Regions from separate parts of the Homo sapiens genome. Here region 2 is linked to region 1. The links are contacts of gene promoters, found by promoter capture Hi-C in blood cells and fetal thymus (Javierre and others, 2016). All regions are on one chromosome and are shown on one strand. Each heading gives the region's core, a stretch centred on a gene start or on the middle of the fragment in contact. The rest is flanking DNA. Distances are from core to core; before and after follow the strand shown. Region 1 holds the start of TMEM179B (transmembrane protein 179B). Region 2 holds the start of LAMTOR1 (late endosomal/lysosomal adaptor, MAPK and MTOR activator 1).

Region 1 (3,453 bases), core at 302-2,801:
TAGTGATAACTTAGGAATGGTCCTGCATTCCAGGAAGTTATTTGTGCACCGTCAATTCCTATTTCTGGGACAGGGATATTGATGGAGAGGGCCTGCTGGGGAATCACACCGGCAGTGGCCAGAAGGATCAGAAAATAGGCAATGAATATAGAATGCAATGAGCTTCAGAGAAGCCTCACAAGTTATGGTCTCTGTGCAGAAACCTTAGAGTAAACCCAGGCCTTGTATATCCTTCAACAAATAACTATCTGTGAGGTGCTTTTTTTTTTTTTTTTTGCTGGAGTGCAGTGGCGCCATCTCGGCTCACTGCACGCTCTGCCTTCTGGGTTCATGCCATTCTCCTGCCTCAGCCTCCTGAGTAGCTGGGACTACAGGCACCCGCCACCATGCCTGGCTAATTGTTTGTATTTTTAGTAGAGACAGGGTTTCACCGTGTTGGCCAGGATGGTCTTGATCTCCTGACCTCGTGATCCGCCTGCCACGGCCTCCCAAAGTGCTGGGATTACAGGCGTGAGCCACCAGGCCCGGCCAGTGTTTTTGTTTTTGTTTTTGCGATGGAGATTCGCTCGTCACCCAGGCTGGAGTGCAATGGCACGATCTCGACTCACTGCAACCTCCGCCTCCCAGGTTCAAGCGATTCTCCTGCCTCAGCCTCCGAAGTAGCTGGGATTACAGGCATGAGCCACCACACCCGGCTAATTTTTGTATTTTTAGTAGAGACAGAGTTTTGCCATGTTGGCCAGGCTGGTCTCGAACTCCTGACCTCAAGTGATCCGCCTGCCTCAGCCTCCCAAAGTGCTGGGATTACAGGCGTGAGTCACCGCGCCCGGCGGATCTCTGAGGTTTTCTCATGGTGTAAAATAGGCACACTAGTGCCTACTTTATAGGCATTAAATGAACCCATGTTTATTAACCAGATTACCTGGCTGGGGTAAACGATGTAAATTATTGGCTTCTACCTTTACGTCAGCGTTTTCTCCATCTCTCATTTTGTCATTTAACACACTGTGCTACAATCATGTGGCAGCTTGATCATCTCCACTACACTATGCTTTATTTCTCGACAAAGCTCAGCACAAATGGCTTCTGATTTAACGGATGGACGCAGGTTCTGCACTGACTTCTGTTTCGGAACCACAGTAAGGCTGTGCAGCAGGAGCCACGAAACCCGACTCCACCTAGTGCTTTAAGACGCTACTGACCCGTCCCTTTGGCGAGGGGACAACTTCGAAGTATGACCTGGCCAGGAGGAGCCACAAAGCGCGATTAGCCTCGCTGCATTTCAGGTACAGGCCGGCGCCAGCCGTGCCTCACCAGGTCCACCGGCTCCGAGCAGCAGCAAGCCCGGTCGGAAAGCGAAAGTGGCCTCGCCATGTCCAGACCGGCCAGCTCCCCCGCCTACCTGACCCCGCCCCGCAGCCGCACCTGGGTCCGAGTCATCGCCGCGGCCGCCACGGCCCCGCACAGGAAGGCGGCAGCAAAGAGCGCAAGCTCGACGCGCTGCAGCCAGGACAGCGCCATGGCGCCCTGACCACCAGGAAGCGCCGCTGCAGCAGCACCCCGCCCAAAGCCCACCTTATCCGGCGCGACCCACGAAGGTGGAGACGTCATTTCCGGGGGCGGGATTTATTTACAAGGAACGAAGGGGCCACTGACTCAGAGCGGCAAGTACAGCGAGTAGTCCGAGAGCGCCCACCGGCGGGCGGGGCGGCTGGTACGGCCGATCATGGGCAGTTTCTGCACGTAGCGCGAGGCCGGGCTAGGCCCGTACGGCGCGGGGAAGGCAGTCTGGAAAAGGCGCCCGCGGCAGCGCCTCCCAGCCTGCCGCCCGGCTATGATGAAACGAAAGTGCGGGGCGCCGCGCGGGGCGAAACGGCTCTTCTGGAAAACGTCGCGGGTGCCGGTCCCGGGGCCCTGCTGCCGGGGTGCCCCGCGCGCCCGATGCACGCGCGGCAAGGGCCTGCTCTCAGAGGCGGCGGGCCCAGAGGCCGACGCGGGGCCGCCTCCGCCGCTGCCCCGGGGGCTCTCGTCGCCGTGCGGGCTGACTATGGCGCTTGCCGTCAGCTGCGGCATCTTCCGCACCGAGTCCGGGGCTGCCGCCGGCTCCTTCTTGTCCCCGGGCGGCCGCGGAGCCGTGGGTGCAGGCTGGCCGGTGCCAAAGCGTGTGGCCAAGCTGTCACCGAAGAAGGCGTAGAGCTCCCGGTAGATGTCGGCCAGGGTCACCGAAAGAGAAGGGTCCTCCGGCCCCGCGCCCCCTGGCGGCAGCGGGAGGCCGGACCCAAAGCTGGGTTCTGCACCGCCCCCGGAGGACGACTCTTGAAAGAGAAGGCTGTCCCATGGCAGGTCGTCCAGGCGCCGGCACCCCCTGCCACCTGGGCCACCCCTGTTGGGCTCTGCTGCCTGGGCCTTCATCTTCAGCAGTCGCTCTACCGCCACCTGTAAGAGCCAAGGACTAAGATAGGCAAAAAATTCGAGGAACCTGGGCCCATCAAATATTCCAAAGTAAGCCTGCTTGGCTGCTAAGCTCATGCAGGGAAGGGAGGCTGGAAGGGGACGGTACTCACCAGAATGGCTCCATAGACTTTGTGTCCATCTGCTTTGACCTGGGCATTAGATACTGAATAATCATCCAGCACAGCCTGCAAGTTTGTCCAGTAGGTGGACAGGTGTGGGTACAGGACTCGTTCTACTGCCTGGAAGGAAGAGAAGGAATACAGTTAGCATGTCTTTGATACTTATTCCCTCTCAAGGACCCTTTCCCATGAAAGACCTACCTTTATCTCTGATCCTAGACAGGGCTCAATCCTCCTAAATTCCCTGATTGGCATATTCAACCATATATTTATTTGGAACCTACTGTATACCTAAGCTAGGCATTGGGAATAAAGATAAGGTACAAAGGGAGACAATAAAAAATATACCCAATATCACTGCCCTGTGTGCTAAATAATGCTCATTACTGACAACTCCAAAATTTAGTTTGCATACTGCTACCCTATACAATCAGGCAAGTACTGGCTTCACTTAGATGTAAACTGAGACTCAGTTCAAACAATCTGCATAAAAACAACCAACCAGAGACTTGGACTCTGATTATACAATTTAAAATCCTGTGATTGGACAGGCGCTGTGGCTCACGCCTGTAATCCCAGCACTTTGGGAGGCCGAGGCCAGTGGATCACCTGAGGTCAGGAGTTCAAGACCAGCTTGGCCAAGATGGTGAAACCCCATCTCTACTAAAAATACAAAAATTAGCTGGGCGCAGTAGCAGTTGCCTGTAATCTCAACTACTTGGGAGGCTGAGGCAGGAGAATCACTTGAACTCGGGGGGCAGAGGTTGCAGTGAGCCGAGATCACACCACCGCACTCCACCCTGGGAAGCAAAGTGAGACTCCGTCTCAAAAAAAAAAAAAAGAATTAACTATAAGGAAAATACCAGCTGGGCCTATAAGG
Region 2 (3,288 bases), core at 482-2,981, 9.3 Mb before region 1:
CAGGGCCCTGCTTACCTGGGCTGGAGGACCAGAGCACAGGACAGGTCGGGGAGTCCAGGGCCTGCTGCGGGGGATAACCCTGAGGTAGGAGGCTGGAATGGCTTTCAATTATTCATGCTGAGGCTGCTGCTGTCACCTGAGACCTGCAGTTCAAGTTACCAGCCCCAGGGACGAGCTTGAGCTGCCTCCTACCCTTCAGGAACCTCAAAAGATTTACAGAACCTCAGGGTCTTGATTTGAGGGGTTATAAGAGGTATGAGATCTGGTGACTTCTCCAATACTTTGGATCAGAAGATGGGGCATGGGGTGAGCCAAGGTGATGGGGTGACTGTAACATGCTCATTGATATGCAAGTTTTCTGTAAGCAAGGCCATGCCTTGGGCTACAGGGAAGAGTCAGAACCTGTCACTGTGCTCCAGGAACTCCCAAGTTTGGTAGGTGAGACTGACCCAGGAACAGAGAATACAATATAGTGTGATCACTATTGGATGTTCCATGACTACAGGGACTTTGGCTGTTTTGTGAACTGCTGCATATCCAGATATAACAATGTGTGGCACATAGTAGACGCTCAGCAAATATTTGTTGATTCAATAAATGCATGAATTAACACTGGATGAGGATTAAGCATAGGGAGCTGGGCATGTCCAGAGAATGGAGTCAGAGAAGGTAATCAGGAGGACATTGTACTGAGTCTCGAAGACAGTAAAGACAGTAGGCAGACCAGGCTGCATGTACAAAGTCCAGTAGATCAATCAGGAAACTACATTATTTCTCTATGTCCAGTGAAACACATTGCTGACCCCTCCACCCCTCACCCCAGAACATGCAGTGGGAGAGGTGTCAGGCTCTTGTTATGTCAGACGGGTAATGTGCCAAAACAAGATTTGAGGGTGGCACATTTGATACATGCTGGTGAACACCCAATCACACGCTCATGAACAACAAATGGATCACTATACAATCTTGGACGGACTTGGACCTGTGTTCAGGGCCCAAGGGAAGACATGGAGCGGGGGTTAGGAAAAGAGAACTGATGGTCAGCTTTGTGCGTTCGATTACAATGGGTGCTGTTAAAAAAGGCAGAATTAAAGATAAAAGCCTGAAAGCAGAGAGGTCAGTGAGGTGGCTTCTATCTCCTCTACCAGGATTTATCTCCGCTGCGCGTCAGCATGTGAAGGTAGTATAAGGTCCCTTCTTCCTGTAAGTCGCAGATCCCCAGCCCAGGTGGAGAATACACCCTCTGTGTATTCACCCCCAGCCCAGCTGGGCGATACACCCTCTGTGTTCCCCGACTAGGTACTGGTCATCTGGATCATCTGTGTGTGTGCACCCAGACCGTACGATCTGGAGCATCAGGCCTGGATCCCAGTCGCCCCTCGCATGGCATTTAGAAGAGTATATCACAAGGGCATACGAGGGCATTTGGTACGAGTTCGCTCAATGGCCCAGAAAAGTGGCCTAGTGGCCACGAGAACGCATAACACAATTCACGATGGCCACTACTGCCAGTTTAGAGACTGGAAAGATGAAGTCATGTGATCCGCCCCGCCCTTTCCCCGCATCACGTGCTTGCGTGTACGGTTACGCCTTCCCATTGGTTGACAACGATCACGCGCTAGCGGGCGGGACCGGAAGCCGGGGTATTGACTGAGGCGGCCAAGCGGCTCCGGGACAGGGGGTACGGGGGGTGGGGGCGGGTGGTTGCCTGCGGGAGGCCGCCGCGGGTCATGTGACCGGAAGGGCTCCTCACGGACGCCGTCCCTCCTCGGCGCGGCCTGAGCGCCCGGCCCGACCCCGGCCATGGGGTGCTGCTACAGCAGCGAGAACGAGGACTCGGACCAGGTGCGGCCGCGGCAGGCGGGGCTCGGGAATGAGGGCTAAGACACTGGGGCATGGGGCCCAGAAAGAAACCTGCGGAGGACGGGCAGCCGGACTGCAGGGCTCACTGAATACGGAGGCCTGGAGGGGACAGATTACAGAGGAGACGCCAAGCCGGGCTCCTACCCCTGTTAAAGCCCCAGATTTCTACACAGTCCCCGCCTCGGGGTGTGCAGGCAGCCGCCTGTCCGGCTCGCTCCCACCACTTCCGTTTGCTCCTACCTTCAAAACTTTTCAGATTCAAGGATCCTCAGTCTAGGTCCCCGGGAAACACTCCCTTCCCCAGCTTCCTGTGTCTTCTGTGTATTAGTGGGCTTTGCGAATCCATTTTAGGGGTGGGTAAGCTGAGGCCCTGAGTTAGTCTGTCCTGAGATGAATCAGGAATTCGTGTATCGTCTTAGTCCCTGGGGTTGCAGAAGGAAGGTCGCTGCTAGTCTAGGGCCAGGGGACGACTCTGGAAGTTGGTGGCCTTTGAATTGGCCAATGAAGGATTTAATCGATACAGTGAGGACATCGGGACATGTGGGAAATTGTCTGGGAAGCAACAAAGAGGATTTAGCTTTGGCTAGATTGTGGGAAAAGAGAAATGGAGCGGGAAGTTCATTTGGTTCTGAGTTTGGCTTGCCTCAGTGCAGTCTGCCTGGGGCCTGAGGGTTCCTTTAGCTGGAGACATGCCTATTCTGAGAATTTGGCTGTAGATCTGATACCTTTGGAGAAAGGGTTAGGCTGGGGAGACCTGTACAGTTTTAAATTCTCCCTCTTCCTCTTAGTGCATTCTCACTTCTCCCCACACTCTAATCCCTGCCCTGCCTGGCCTGACATTCAAGGATGAAGTCTCAAGTTGCTGTCTACTCTCCTTTTTTGATCGTCTCTAAGCCCGGATTCTACATTTGAACATATAGTAGACCTGAGAGAGTAGAAAGGTTTCAGGTAGCTCACGGTCTAATGGGGAAGATGGTCACAAAAATAGATTATATCACTGGTACTTGGGAAGTAGTTCGTTCTTCAGTGAACGTATTTTGGATTAAGGGCTTAAGCCTAGGAAAATGTCGTTTGTATGGGAAGCAAGGGTGGCTTCTGGTTCTCAATTCTCCATACACCCAATGAACACATATTTCCTTTGCCCTGTGTTAGGCATGTGTTGTGCCTAATACCTCTCACTTCACTTCCACCTTTTTGAGAAAGAGACAACAATAACCCTGCCTACTGGGAGAGCTGTAGCCTAGTGGGAAATTGTCCCTTAAAGCATAATATGGACTCTTGCAGGGAATGAGTCAAGAAGGATTAATGCCGTATGAGAAAGGATACAAGCTTCTACTTGGAAGGGAGAGCTGGGCCTGCTGCTCTCCTGAATCTCTACCTTCTCCTTGGGGGGCTCTCATTTCTGTTCCTAACACCCAGAGAAGG

What was found. Contacts are between HindIII fragments. The CHiCAGO score rates a contact against its expected background, and 5 or more counts as called.
Region 2: the fragment with the promoter of LAMTOR1 here is called in contact with the fragment with the promoter of TMEM179B in region 1 in 1 of 17 cell types (neutrophils); the score reaches 5.0 in neutrophils.

Annotation. Positions count from the first base shown.
Region 1 is chr11:62,785,500-62,788,952 of GRCh38, reverse strand. It overlaps TMEM179B (transmembrane protein 179B), which reads right to left and starts at 1,551. Exons shown (of 5, transcript NM_199337.3): 1 at 1,426-1,551. The coding sequence starts at 1,521. It overlaps TAF6L (TATA-box binding protein associated factor 6 like), which reads right to left. Exons shown (of 11, transcript NM_006473.4): 10 at 2,565-2,693; 11 at 1,611-2,436. The coding sequence ends at 1,657. It also overlaps a transcript of TMEM223 not described here. RefSeq lists a silencer at 1,921-2,030 and an enhancer at 2,281-2,480. The HindIII fragment of the contact is 7,473 bases long and covers 1-3,453 here.
Region 2 is chr11:72,101,740-72,105,027 of GRCh38, reverse strand. It overlaps LAMTOR1 (late endosomal/lysosomal adaptor, MAPK and MTOR activator 1), which reads left to right and starts at 1,731. Exons shown (of 5, transcript NM_017907.3): 1 at 1,731-1,845. The coding sequence starts at 1,804. It overlaps LRTOMT (leucine rich transmembrane and O-methyltransferase domain containing), which reads right to left. Exons shown (of 9, transcript NM_001145310.4): 6 at 16-64. It also overlaps the pseudogene LOC124902837. RefSeq lists enhancers at 645-1,165, 1,946-2,025 and a silencer at 1,576-1,845. The HindIII fragment of the contact is 8,877 bases long and covers 1-3,194 here.